3 separate regions of the Homo sapiens genome follow, and regions 1 and 3 are each linked to region 2. The links are contacts of gene promoters, found by promoter capture Hi-C in blood cells and fetal thymus (Javierre and others, 2016). All regions are on one chromosome and are shown on one strand. The core of a region is centred on a gene start or on the middle of the fragment in contact, and the rest is flanking DNA. Distances in the headings are between cores, read along the strand shown. Region 1 overlaps EPB41L2 (erythrocyte membrane protein band 4.1 like 2). Region 2 holds the start of MED23 (mediator complex subunit 23). Region 3 overlaps EPB41L2 (erythrocyte membrane protein band 4.1 like 2).

Region 1 (4,975 bases), core at 1,791-4,290, 750 kb before region 2:
GGAGAGGAAAAGAACAGAAAAACAAGTAACTTCAAGTACAGATAAACCACTTGGGGGCTTTTCCAGATTTAAATTTCACATTAACATCACTTTAATGTGACTTCTATGACAAGATATTTTACACTGTACATTCCTAAAACATGAGATCCAGAAAAATGATAATAATTTTAAACATCTCCACTAAAATGTCAAAGTTTCCTACTGCAAAAATCCAAGGACATCACTTTAAATTTGATCGAATGATACCATGTGATTGCTTCTGAAGGACAGGTTATGAAAAATACGTAATATTTCAAAGCATGTGATATTAAAGTCCTCATTATACACATGGAGTCTAATTGGCTTTGGTTTCAGGCTAACCTTTAAAGTATATAAATATGTCACTTGGTTTAGCTTCATGACATTATCTTTCTCATTTGCAATGTTCTGAAAATATTTCATCTCAACTAGACCATAAACTCCTTATTTCTACTTATTTTGCCTCCTTTCCCAACCCTGCTACGTGTTCTGATGAATACTCTCTACCAATTAACAGAATCTACTTTGTGGAAGGGAATCACTGTTTCCTTATTAATAATCTCTGTTCTCATTCACAGCCCCTATAATCTATTCCTCATCCAGTGCCAGGGGGACTTCTGTCAGAAACAGGTGGGATTCTGCCACTACTCACCTTCAAACTCTCCAATGCTTTCCCATCATTCTTATTGTACAATTCCAAACTGTTAGCATGGCCTTTAAGATCGTGACATGACCTAGGGTCTAACCTCTTTGAATTTTCCTTCCTTCGTGCTCCCCCTTGCTCACCAAGCCCCTGTCATTTGGTCTTTCAGTTCCTGTGTTGTGGCTCGTCCTTACACGTGGATACATTTTCACATGTCCACCTGGTTATCATTAAGGTTTCAACTCAAATGTCATCTCCTCCTGACCACAATGACAAAACGGTCTTCCTAATCCCCTCCTAACACAACATTGTATTTCACCTTCTTAACATTTACTTCCTAGTGTCTGAAACTTTCCAAGTACCAATTAGAAAATTTTCTAATCACCAGCCGGGTGTGGTGGCTCACGCCTGTAATCCTAGCACTTTGGGAGACCAAGAAGGGCAAATCACGTGGTCAGGAGTCAAGACCAGTCTGGTCAACATAGTGAAACCCCGTCTCAACTAAAAACACAAAAAAATTAGCCAGACTTGGTAGCAGGCACCTGTAATCCCAGCTAAACAGGAAAGTTGCTTGAACCCAGGAGATGGAGGTTGCAGTGAGCCAAGATCATGCCATTGCACTCCAGCCCGGGCGAATGTGCAAGAGTGCATCTCAAAAAAAAAAAAAAGAAGAAAGAAAAAAAAGAAACTTTTCTAATTAACTATTTCCATGTCTCCTCCACTAGACTCCAAGCTCTCCAGTCCCAGCAAATAACAGACTGACCACCTGGCTAAGTAAAATCAGTAGAAAGAGAAGAATGAGGATGTAAAAGCAATGGAAAGTGAACTTCCTCACCAGTGTCAGAAATGTCACACATGCAGGAGCAGAGAGAGAGGTGAGGGGCTGCTATGGTGCATCAAAATCTTTGTTCCCATTAAAAATCTTACAAGTGAAAACTCAAAAGGTTTCCATATGTAATTAGTAAACTCATCATCTAAGGCACATAAGTGGTTATTTTAACAACACGACATGCATAAGTATTGTACAAACAGTGCACTTTCACATGAAATCAGTTTCCCAACTGTCAGCCACATACATCAAATTAGGAATCAGTTATCACCTAAATTGGTTGATGTTTCTGTATTTCAAATTTTGACTTTTCAAGTGCTTCTGCAATATGGTATTTCTCATCCAACAATCCTATGCTTCTATACACAGGGGATTTAACTTTTTAAATGCTCAAAAATCATTTCAAAAAAATTTTAGTATGACACACAGGAAAAAAGAAATCTTATGGCTGTGGATAGAAACAAAAGGAAAGGGGGAAAAAGCAAGAGTAGATCCAAGGGTGCAAGGTGAACACCTTGTCCGTCTCCTGAGCTTTTTCTTCAACTGTCCATATTGTCGGCATCAGGTACTTCTCCTTCACGGATAAAATATCCTTGAAAAGATGGTCTCCTTTTCTCTATTGTTTTAAACAATAGACATAATCAACAAATAAGACACATACATTACACCTATAGCAACACAAACACAAAATACTGACCCAGTGTGGGTCAATGACACACACCAGGAGAAGTGGCACATAATGGAAGGTGAAAACCTTGGCATGGCATCAGACCCTTTCTCCAGAAAACACAACATTCTGGAATAGACTGCTGAAATTGACATTTTTTATCATCTTCAGAAAAATCTGAAACTAAGAACTGAAGTTGTATTCAACTTCATAAGACTCTACCAAGCATGTCTTAATATTTTCAAAAGTTCTGTGTTTCAGTTCAGCAATTCTTTTTGCTCATCTGTTCTTAAAGAGCTTTCTTTTTCAATGGCACAAACTTAGAAATTTAAAGCAACTAACAGCTTTTCTTTTTAAGGAAAGGTGAATAAAAATAGCACTAGAATATCTAAATCAATGTCTACAATTTGGCAACATTCAAGCCAGACTAGATGCTGAAAGGAAAAAGATGAAATTGTAGGGTAACATCTTTATACCATTTTTTAAACTACAGATTAAATATAGTATGATCACTGTCCGCTCAAGTATGATAAACGAGCCCATGGAAGTTCTTGGTCAATAACAGGAGGGATTTGGAAGAATCCTAGAGGCACAGATGTGGATGACAATGAATGGAGAAATGTATTGAGAATATATCCTGAAGGCAATATGTACTCATATCAGTGGTGGGGAGAAGTAAACCATGAAAAGAAATAGAGTAAGTGAGGAGAAATGTTATGATTGAAAAAACGTTTTTAAAACACAATTCTAACATTTCATTATAAGGAAGTTTCAATACTAAGTCATATTATATATAATATTTTTCAAGCTTTCAACAGGGCTCATCGGTCTTTAAAGCTAAGTTAAACTCATTTTCCTCACAGTAATAACTTTAAACCACTCTAAAGATAGCCTATATTTCTTTATTTATTAATTATTTATACTAAGTAAATGTCCCTATTTCAGATATCAGTAACTAAAAAGCTTATTAAATACAGTATGTTAGTTTCTAAATTGTCCTATATAACAATTCATTACTACAATTTACCTGAGTAAAATAGTGAAATTATCCTAAAACTATTTCAAAAGTATTTTGAAACTCATGCAATTTACCTAAGAACTAGGCCAATAACTATTACATTGTTAATATTTAGTATTTACAAAATTGTTAGTAATTACATAAAAATAATTAAATGGGAACATTTTGTAACTTCCCTAGACTCAACATAGAGATTAACAATTTAAGTTTTATTGAGCAACTGAAGTGAGACAGAGCCAACAAATAGCTAATGACATACCCCTTGTGTCTGTAGGGACAGAGGTGTGATACGTCGTTTTTCCCATTCATTAGGGCGCGGCTCAGGTGTGGATTCCATAAAATTGCGCTTGAGTTCACTAATGCTAGCCTGATGTTTCAGTATGTCCTCCTGGGCCTTATCCAGTTCCTAGCAATATGTAACGTAACAAAGGGGGGAAAAATCCAAAAGGAAAAAACCCAGTAGGACAAAAATAAAACCAAAAAATAAGACAAAGCAAACTTACGATTAAAAAAAAAACCATAGTAAAGCAAGAAAAATGCCAAGTCTCTAAAGCCATATTATTATCTATGAGTAAGTTCATGAATTCATCAAAATTTGAAAATAAAGTCAATGCGTACTTCTTCAATGATTTACATTTTAAAGGGTTCTGATTTCTTCTCTATTTAGGATTTTTAAAGGAATAATTATTTACATTATCAGAAAGATGACATGGAACTGATCATCAAAATGGCTAATAACACTTCCTTCCAGTACCTGGATTTGAAACTCAGACTATGACTTTGTTCCAGCAAATTTACCTTTCTGATTAGGACTACTCCTAAAATTGCATTCTGTGAATATAGGAAATCAAGTACAAAATAGAGGAAGGTAGAGACTCAGAAGCACACTGGCTGGAAGAAAAAGCCAGACCAGGATCAACCCCCAGCTGGAAAAGCCAAGGTTTTTTGTTTGTTTGTTTGTTTTCAGGAAATTCCAGTGATGGCTTTTAATTCTTAAGGAATAAAAATTACTGCTTCCAGAGGCTGCTTCTGTTTAGCCTCTTTATAGAATAAATAAACCACAGACTGGTCTCATGTACTTGCCAAGCACAAAAGTGGGGTCTAGCCTCCGCAACTGCCAGATCGTCCTTATACAGACAAATATACAAGAAAAACTACCAGGTCCATTTTCATGGGAGCAGGCCCTGATAAATGGTATTTGTGGAATTTTTTTCGACTGGCTCTCATAAATAGTATTTGTTTTAACCAAATTTTAAATATTTATTTATATTTCAAAAATCATAGGGCCACCTGTGGATTATAGCTTTCATCCCACTTTAAGGAACAGGTCATGCAACCAATAAAATTAGATATTCCATATTCATGCACAAGCATAGTAGCTCATCTATGAGCTTCTATAGCCATTTGCAAAAACTCATGAAAATCTAAAAATCTTTGCATGGCATGGAAAAATGACTGTGGCTTGAGATCAGGCACATTTCTTGCATTGGTTCAAAGCAATGTTACTTATTACACTGTACAGCATTTTAGTAAGTTAAGCAAAAATACATTTCCATCAGTTACCAAGCTGCCAAAAGCAACCAAACAGATTAGTCAGATTACTGAGAGCTGCAGTTCTCCATTGAATACATTGCCACATACTACTGTAAAATAAGAAGGGAAAAAAAAATGTTCTCACGTGACACGGGGAACATATTTTACACTTTACATTCATAATTGGGTGATTGGGCTTTCTTTTTCTCCTTTCCTTCTCTCTCACTTTTGCTTGTTCTTTCTAATTAAAATAATTTCTTTAATTAG
Region 2 (4,687 bases), core at 102-2,601:
TTCACGGATACATTTTCTGGTAGCTGTTCTTTGTTACTTTTACAGTTTGTCTCCTCATTTTTACTATAATATTTTCCTATCCTTATTATAGAATCTTGGTATTCCTATTGTAGCATCTTTGTATCAATGCTGTGCCAATTCCTTTATTTAGCAGAAAAATGGAATTTGTATCCTTGACAAGTAAAGCTTAACATATCTGTTTTCAAGTGTACCAAATAAATCCGAATAGGATGAAAATGATCTCAATTAATCTAACATAGGGGAGGTTTTTTTTTTTAAACATCTCACACTGTGCAGTATCAACTTGACTTCTCAACACAGGTTTTCCACTGAAATATACAAATTAAAACAAATGGAAGCCAGAATAAAAAATGATAACAATTTTATTTCTCCCTTCTCAGGAAGATCTTAAGAGCAGCATGAAAGTAAATGTTAAAAGAAAAAAAAAAAAAAAAAGAAGAGGCCAAAAATCATCAGCTGAATGTATTAAAAATGAAGCGCTCACCTGAGAAAGACCACCCCAAAACTGTCTGAAGGCCCCCAAACAGCTAATTAGTTTTGTTTTCTCATCTTCAGGAGTATCCATAAACATGCTAAAAAAATAAAAATTACATTATTTGTCATTCGTTTTAAAAAGGTAATTACACACAATCAGAATAGTGGATCTTATAACCTTCCAACACGAAACTAAGTAAAATCTGACAGACACAATCACATAAAAACACAAAACTCTGCCACGCATACACTCACCCAGGAAAAGCCTCTTCTATAACTTCCGTTTTCTGTAAAAAAAAAAAAAACAAAATGTAAACAATGTTAATTTTAAAAAGGCGCCTCCCTTAGCCAAGTATTACAATGTAACACAGGGCAAGTCACCTTAATCAGCTCTGAAACTATCAATACCTGTCTGGCCTGTCACTGTATCGATTTCAAAGGATACAATGAACTTGACAGCAGTTTGAGAATCACTAAACTTCCCCGCATACAACCTCGGTGTCAAAACAAGGGAATAAAAAGGGAGGCGTGAGAGGAGGTTGCCCAGGCCAGTTTCCTTGGTCGGCTGCCCCCGCGTCTCCCCGTCCCCAAGCCGTAGTCCTGGATGGCCGGCAGCTGCACTCACCACCACCTCTTCGAAAATGCTCTGCAGTTGCGTCTCCATCTGTACTATCACCCCCGCCTTTCCAGGGTGCCCGGCAAGGCCCGGATCAGACTCGAGCTCTGGGAATATAGGGGCAGAGGGGCGGAGACCTCTGGAGGAAACCGTAGCTCCTCGGCGTCGCTTCCTCCCCCAGCGCTTTACCTGGAGCGTTCCCTCCCGAGCCCAGCCAACAGCAGGAACCTGTACGGAAGACGGGAAGGGCCCGGTACGCGCCGTTTGCAAACCCCGCAGAAACCAGCGGCGCCACCAGAAGGTTCCGTCTGTGGAGAAGGGCGGCCCGCAAGCCGGACGAGAGCGCCCCCAAACGGAACCTTGAGCCCAAGGACCCCGGAGGCATCGTCGACCGCAGGCCGCCACCTCCCGGCTGGAGAAGGAGTTGCTTCCTGTTCGGGGCTAACCCGCTTGCAGACTGAGAAATGAAAAGTTTGGAACCCAGAAGCTGCAGCCTGCGGAAAATGCTGGAGCCGCAGCCGACACCAAGTTGATGTCTGTGAGCAGCTGACCTTCTGGACCTCCATCAGCGGCCTGCAGCCAGGAGCTGAAGCCACAGAGACGGTGTCTTCTCAGCTATGATAACCTCAGTGCAAATGTAATTGATTGACTTTTGAATGCCAAACCAATTTTGCTTCTATGGTATAAATGCTACTTGGTCATAATATATTATCCTTTTTAATATATTGCTAGATTCTATTTGCTATTATATTGTTGAGAGTATGTGTTTTTCTTCATATGCCACCATCATCACCAACCCCTAAAACATCTGTTATGTCTTGAATGATCAGCTTTCTTTGCCTCATAAAGAAAATTGTTGATGAGAGTCATAGACATCCAAAGGCCTTTCACTTCTTTGACGGTTGTGAAATGCCACAAACTGCTAAGCATGAACTACTCCTTTGTAGCTGCTAAGTGATGAGCTGATGACTCCCCATTCATGGTTTTGTTATACAAGTGTCTGACCTGGCATAAATTTAGTTTTCTAACAACTTTAATATGCACATGCAACCATGTTGTCCACACAATAGCTACTAAAAGCTGAAAAGAAATAATTCAGATTTCCTGCTGGAGAAAAACTTGAAAAGTTAGGCTTAGGGTATTGTTTGCTAGGGTTGCCATAACAAAATACCACAGACTGGGTGGCTTAAACAACAGAAATTTCTTTTCTTGTAATTCTGGAGGCTGGAAGTCTGAGGTTGAGGTTGATAGGGTTAGTTTCTATAGAGGCCTCTGTCCTTGGCTTGTAGATGACCTTCTTCTCCTTGTGTCTTCACATGGTCTTCCCTTTGTACATGTCTGTGTCGTAATTTTCTCTTCCTAGAAGGACATCAGTCAGGTTAGGGCCCATGTATCTACTCTAAAGAGCTTTAGCTTAGTTGAAGACATAGACATTTTAAACCATAATAGAGTGTGATATGTGCAATACTAGTGATGCTAATAAAGTGCCAGGGAGAAAAGGAGGAAATACAAATTTTTCTACAGAAAGGAATTTAGAAAGATACCTAGGGGAGTTTGCTTAGATTGCTGTGAACAGCATACTATAAACTGGGGGGTAATTTGAGTCTGAGCAAACTGAAAGCTGAGAATTCAGGCTTCTTGTTCCATCCTTGTCCTATCAGGATTTAGAGTGGGGGACTAAAGAGCCAACTGGAAACTCTGAGCAGCTGGGCAGGGCTTATCAACTTTGAGCATCTTTATAGTGTGTTCTGGGGACATTGTTTCTTGGAGAATCCCCAAAGTTGGTATCATCAGGTCTTTCCCCTTAGGCTGGTCTGAATCACCAAGGAAGATACATCTAATCTCTTACAAGTGGGTAAAGTTCTGACTGGCTGCCAACCTTCTTGCAGCCAAAAGGAACAAGAAGCCTGATCTCTTACAAGTGGGTAAAGTTCTGACTGGCTGCCAACCTTCTTGCAGCCAAAAGGAACAAGAAGCCTGAGTTCTCAGCGTTCAGTTTGCTGAGACTCGAATCACCCCAGTTTATAGTATGCTATTCACAGCAGTCTGAGCAAACTCACGTAGATATCTTTCTAAATCCCTTTCTGTAGAAAAATTTGTATTTCTTCCTCTTTCCTCCTGGCACTTTATTAGCACTACTAGTATTGCACAGATTACACTATATTATGGTTTAAAATGTCTACTTCTTCAACTAGACTAAAGCTCTTTAGAGTAGATACAGAAATTAAACATGCCTGCATTTCCTAACACCTGGCATAAAGTCTGGTACTTGGTGGTGCTCAGTCATTATTCATTACTTTGGGTAGAATAAAAACATCTGAAGTGCCTTTATTTTATGGACAAGACTTCCTCTGAGGTAATAGCTATTTCTGGAATGCTGGATGTAGAGAAAGATTTGGAACACCTACAAAGTTATACCTAGTAAAGTTATTATAATTTATAACAGTTGGGTTCACTGGACATTTATGTATGTGGTAGCTTATACTTCTAATGTTATTTCTGAAACCGTTACAAAATTTATTCAGCAAGTGTTCATTGAATGTCTTCTAGGTGTTGGCCACTGTGCTAGACACTAGAACAAGACTGTAAGCTCAAACTGACCTAGTTCCTGCCACCACGGAGTTGACACGGCAGAGAGGAGTTTAAAGGTTTGGGGAAATAACTTGGTTCATGCCAGGTTTCAGAGATGTAAACAGTACGTGGCCTGTACCTTCTGCTTCATGGATGGGCACCGTGGGAGCACTGTGACACTGAGCTCTACCTCGGAGAGCCCAGGCAGCATGGTTGTTTTATAATGTCTCTTCTGGAGACATCTCTAGAATTTGAGTCATAAATGAGGCCCTCATGAGTACACTAAAAATGAGAAGAGCCTATGAAAACCTGGAAAATGTTTGGAAATCCAAAGATTTCTGAGTTTCAAAATGAACAAGAAAGGGCTCCTAGAAATCTAACACTACTAGGGAATATTTCTGTACTTGAGACAAAGTAAGAGAAACAGTCTTCCATGAACCAGAGACAACCTTAGGAATGCTGATCGTTCAGTAGAAAACAATTGCTACACCACAGGAGTCATCACATCAGGTTTCTCATCTCCAAATTGATTATAGATGTTCATTGTGCTGATCAGTAATGAGATTTTTACTTATTTAGTCAGAAAATATCTTTTCACACACATAGGTACTGGCAAACAGCGGTATCAAACTGTGACCATTGATTCTACTTTGCCATAGTCATTGTTTGGAGGACTAGAGCTGGGCTCTCTATTCCATGCTGGGTGTCTGCTTTGTCTCCTGGTGTGTACCATTGCCTCTCAGACCTGGTTTGGCACTGCTGACATCAGTCTCACCAAGACAGCCAGTTCTCAATTCAGCTTCAGTGTTGGATCTCCACTTGCTGAGGATTAGCTTCTGTCCTTCCTATACCAACTGCCTACCTGGTTAGCTTTCTGATTGCTTTGTGTGCTTGTCAATCTCCTTGTAGGTTTTTCTGCTTTTTCCTCATGACTGGCCCTCCCTGAAGTTAGTCACCTGCCCATCTATCTCTGGCATTATGTTATTATGTGAGGTCTCCCTTCCT
Region 3 (4,622 bases), core at 696-3,195, 730 kb before region 2:
AATGCTAGCACTTGCCATTTCTGAACAGATTATTGCTTTTTTTTTTTTTTTTTTTATCATTATGTGACAGGGAAAGCTGTTGTCTGCCCAGCTTGGACCTGTGTCATAAATGTCATCTACTAGCTTTATATGAGCTGGCTCATGTTGTCTGGAGGAGAAATTTGTTATGGCTACCAAGAAAAATTATAAAGTTTTCAAAGATTTATATGATCAGTGTAACTTGAGGGATTCAAGCATATTTTATGAGTTATATTTCTCCTCAAAAATTAACATATTAGTCTTGAAAAATAGATATTATCAATTTAACGTCAAGAAAGAATCATGTGTGCCAGCTGATAATTCACATTAAAAATAGCAAACTGTGATACCAAACGAAGAATAATGATAATGGTGAAGATAAATTTTATGATATGCCAGAAATGGTTCTAAGTTGTTTCATGTGTGTTATCTCATTTAATTTTCAAAACAATCCTATGAGGTAGATACTAGTATTACTATCATATATGGATGATGGAAGTGAAGCAGAGAGGTTGGTATCACGGTGACACAGCTCGTATTTGGTAGAACAGTATTAGACCATAAGTCCAGAGCAAAAACCTTAAAGATGAAGGATCTAGATACACAGCTAGCTAAACTGCAGTGAGAGAAAACTGAGGAAACGGAGAAAACAAAGATAAGCAAACTACATGTAAAAAACATGTCCTTGAAGAAAAGTATAAAAAGAGACAAGATACAAGCTAAAGATGGTTAGATGATCAAAGATTTTATATACAAAATCTTATATAACCATATATACATATTTGTTGTTGTTTTTTAAAGAGCAAGATGTGGACATATTTATTGGCCAAAGAACCTAAAGGTACCCACTAGGGAACAAATAATTTACAAAGCAGGATAATTTAAGAGGCACAAAATGAGGGATCAAAGCAGAGGAATGATTATCTCCTCCTTGAGACAGGAGAAGTGGGAAAGAATGAATGGGAGGAGAGAGGAGCGATGCTTCATTAAAGGCAAAAGGGAAGAAGGGAAGGTGCATGAAACCAAGAACACTCATGCACAGCTTCTTCTTTCAGTGACCCACACAGTGGAGGGCATCAGAAGAGGAAGCAGGGGTGCCTAGGGACTCACGAGGACCATGAGCATTTGGAGTGGCAAAGGAAGTCAAAAGACAAATTGCTTGCCTAGCAGCACTGAGGATCCAGCTCATGCTGGAAATTATTTATCTGTAATAGCACTAATCCATAGAGTTGTGCTATTTTTTGTTATATAGAGTAACTGCATGTGTCACAATGGTTGTACTATTTTTAAGGTAGCACTTGGACAGCACAGGTCCAAAACTGGTGAGGTCAGGACACAGGACTAATCCAGGACTAGCAGACAGAGAAGGTAAATGTGCAAAGAGGAGAGTAGTTTGAGGGGGTCAGAACGTTCCTGACAAAGCAGTCAGACCATAGGGTTCAAGTTGGTTTGGGAAAGAAGTTAAGTCAGGAGGCAGCTGATGAGAATATCGAAGTGAAACCTAAGAGGAGGGATAGTGGAAAGAAGAATGGTAGCAGGCATGAGGCAGTGTGGCTGTGGTGGAAGGAAAGGTGGTTAGAGTCAGAAAGTGGAGCTCTAGACAGCTGCAGGGGCAGCTCAGTTATAAATGACAATGCATGGACAGAAATGGACCTGGGAGGGACTGCAGACAAAGGAGATGAGGCAAGGAGGGGAGAAAAGAGTTCAAAGACAGTGGGTTAATGCATCTGCCACATTCCCCACCACTACCACCTCCTAATTCACAGAGGTTACTAAAAGCAATACCAAGCTGTTTTCTTTCTTTCTTAGAAAAAAAGAGAGATGGAGTCTCAGTATGTTCCCCAGGCTGGTCTCAAACTCCTGGGGTCAAGTGATCCTCCCACCTCTGCCTCCTGAGTCAGTGGAATTACAGGCATGTGCGATCATGCCCGGCTTCCGAGCTGTTTTCCTAAAATTACCTGTAGAAAGTATGATGCTCCACGCACACTTTCCATAGTCTTTTCGCTGCCCGGTGGTTTGGCAGTTTGAATCCAATGGTACTCTCAAACTGTTCCAGCTGGAATAAATCCGTAAAACAAATCAGCATATTTCCTTAAGAACTGACTAGAAGTTACTGAAAAGCATGCATTCAGATGTTTCTGTGAGAAGCAATTATTCTTCTCAAAAAAGGTAAATATTGCATATCTAATATAATCATATAAAGATGAATTTCATAGACTGCAATACTATTTTCTACAAAAAGCAAGTAACAACGGCTCACATAAACCAACTATCCTTCAATGTTCACTAAAACTCATCTTATTGCTTTCCTAATGATCACAACTTAATTGATTCAACAAGAAAAAACGAGCCCACACCTTATCACATTTTCTTTTTTGTAAAAAGCGTGATGGTTGCTTTTTTTAAAAACAGACCAGACGTATATATACTGCAATTTTACCATTAAGAACCCTGACCTTTTACAATGGAAGAATAAATAGTTTATTTTCTTAAAATTTTAGAATTAATAGAAAAGAATTTTTAAATTCATGGTCGTAAACAGGCCGACTAACAACAACTGATTAGAAATGTCTTGGCTTACCTCTGCCGGTCTGACTTTAATGTAGAAGTTACTGCGTTTATAGGAAATTTTTAAGATTTTCGGCCAAGCAAAACGATTGATTCGCAGTCTGTCTTTGTAAATGAGAAGTCCATTAGCACACACGCCCAGCTTGATGTCCACACCTTCTGAGTCCTGCCAAGCATAACCCAATTAACCATGGTTAAGAGCTGTGAAAGTTACACAAATCAAGAAGCTAATTAGCTCCCTCAAATCATGATCAGGAATGACAGTTTAACAGGTTTGTATTTAAAGTTTAGTGACAAGTACGCACGTTAATGAAAACTATGGCGCACACACATACATGTTAAATTTATTCATCTTCAGGGATCAGGTGTGATTTGCCGAAGAGTTACGGCAACATGACCATAAGACACAGTGTCCTTCAAAAGGCGTAATGCATATGTTCTCAAGCTCCACTGTAGGAGCTAACAGAGAAGAAAGGAAGCAGAACTAGAGATCCTGAAGATACGGGAAATAAAATGAGCTTTTCCCGTAGGCTAGTCCAGCCTCAGGGACAGTCTGTTGGCCTACCCTAAGATGTGTTCAACCATTTTCCTTTAGGTGCATTTACCTCAGATGGATTACCCTAGCTAATAGCTCTTAAAATTATGCCAATATTTTGCAAAACACCAATCCCTTGCAGATAATTTCTCTTCCAGGCTGACAGTGCTGAAATCTCTGAATTCTTTCAAGCAGTTTTTCATTAACTTAGAATGCTGACATCCAGTTCTCATTAGGCATTCCTTTGGCTGGCACGTTTCAAAGGACTGCAGACTATTCTTGAAGTTATTAATAGTTTTCTTTCCCTAGAGCTTTAATCTGGAATCGATGACAATCTAGAATAATCACAGGCCTAAATTATGTTTTAAAAACCAAACAAATTTACAGGCAAAAGTGAAAACCTGTCTCCTCACATTTCAAGTAGTGAAGATCTAAGATGCATGTATTCAAAACATACAAATTATTGTTTATCTCTAAGAGGAGAGCTGGCTCTCATTCAACATATGTAAAATTGAAGACTACCGCTCAAAGACATTCACATTTTCAGAAATCACAAACAATACGAAACAAATTCTCACAAAAAATGTTGCAACAAACCCCATATTTAGTCTAACTCCCAATTTAATAAAAGGACATTTTGTCTATCTTATTACTCAGAACATTTTGATACCATTTAAATCAGTTTTTTATAAATAAAAGTATAGTATTAGCTAATTGATGCCAGTTGCTTTCTCTGCTGTGACACTTGAGTAATTCATATATACAAATAAAATTACATTAGACCAACTTGAGCCATTTTAAAAAATCCAATCAATTGCTTTACTCACCCTTATCTTGGCAGCCACAACTCTCTCTAGGAATAGACTAAAAAGCTGGGGTGAATCAGGCACAGGTGCCCAAGCAACTTGGCACCAGACCCCATGGTGTGTTTGCCAAAACCATCACTGCCCATGGCCACCGGGAGCAAGGCAGAAGATTGCCCGAGACGGCATGTTCTTACCACAAGTGGGGAGGCAACCCGCATTTGAAACATTGAATGAGCCATCTCTAGTCTGAAGCAATCTTTGGACAGGACAAGGAAGCTATTTTATCTGACTTAAAAATAGACACAACGCAGATTCAAGTAAATCAGTTGATTTTTGTTGTTCTATGTAATTATTTTAGAATTACCAGTATTTGTGTGAATAGAAACGACAGATGAAGGGTAGGAAGTGAAAGAGGAAAAGGCAGGCCTTGATCCTTCACATGTAAGTTATGCCACATGGTATCAAAATCAGAAAAATAAACTAATGGAAAGGAGCACCTTCTCTGCATTGCTCACTGCTCCATGGAGCAATGCATGGGGCAATGCATGGAGATGGCTGGCTTTCAAATGAGTTCAGTATAAAGGGAGTTCTTGCAAAGGATCAGGAGAGAAAGGAAAGGGAGGTCAGGGTGTTTAATATCCAGATTCCCTCCCTACGTGGTCACCTCAGGCTGACTATGTCCCTCTGACAATGGC

Evidence for each region. The method cuts DNA at HindIII sites, captures the fragments that hold promoters and counts their contacts. A CHiCAGO score of 5 or more calls a contact.
Region 1: a contact is called between a fragment that was not itself captured here and the fragment with the promoter of MED23 in region 2, in 5 of 17 cell types (total CD8 T cells, fetal thymus, monocytes and 2 more). The highest score is 7.8, in total CD8 T cells.
Region 3: a fragment that was not itself captured here is called in contact with the fragment with the promoter of MED23 in region 2 in 4 of 17 cell types (naive CD8 T cells, naive CD4 T cells, fetal thymus and 1 more); the score reaches 7.9 in naive CD8 T cells.

The regions. Positions count from the first base shown.
Region 1 is chr6:130,874,670-130,879,644 of GRCh38, forward strand. EPB41L2 (erythrocyte membrane protein band 4.1 like 2) reads right to left here. Exons shown (of 20, transcript NM_001431.4): 14 at 3,435-3,581. Among named protein-coding and RNA genes, the nearest start is that of SMLR1, 50 kb to the left of the region's middle. RefSeq lists enhancers at 2,194-2,363, 4,136-4,305. The HindIII fragment of the contact is 155 bases long and covers 2,964-3,118 here.
Region 2 is chr6:131,626,891-131,631,577 of GRCh38, forward strand. It overlaps MED23 (mediator complex subunit 23), which reads right to left and starts at 1,352. Exons shown (of 29, transcript NM_004830.4): 1 at 1,121-1,352; 2 at 751-782; 3 at 506-593. The coding sequence starts at 1,159. RefSeq lists enhancers at 992-1,041, 1,172-1,341. The HindIII fragment of the contact is 7,493 bases long and covers 185-4,687 here.
Region 3 is chr6:130,892,368-130,896,989 of GRCh38, forward strand. It overlaps EPB41L2 (erythrocyte membrane protein band 4.1 like 2), which reads right to left. Exons shown (of 20, transcript NM_001431.4): 9 at 2,600-2,752; 10 at 1,977-2,074. Among named protein-coding and RNA genes, the nearest start is that of SMLR1, 67 kb to the left of the region's middle. The HindIII fragment of the contact is 9,496 bases long and covers 1-4,622 here.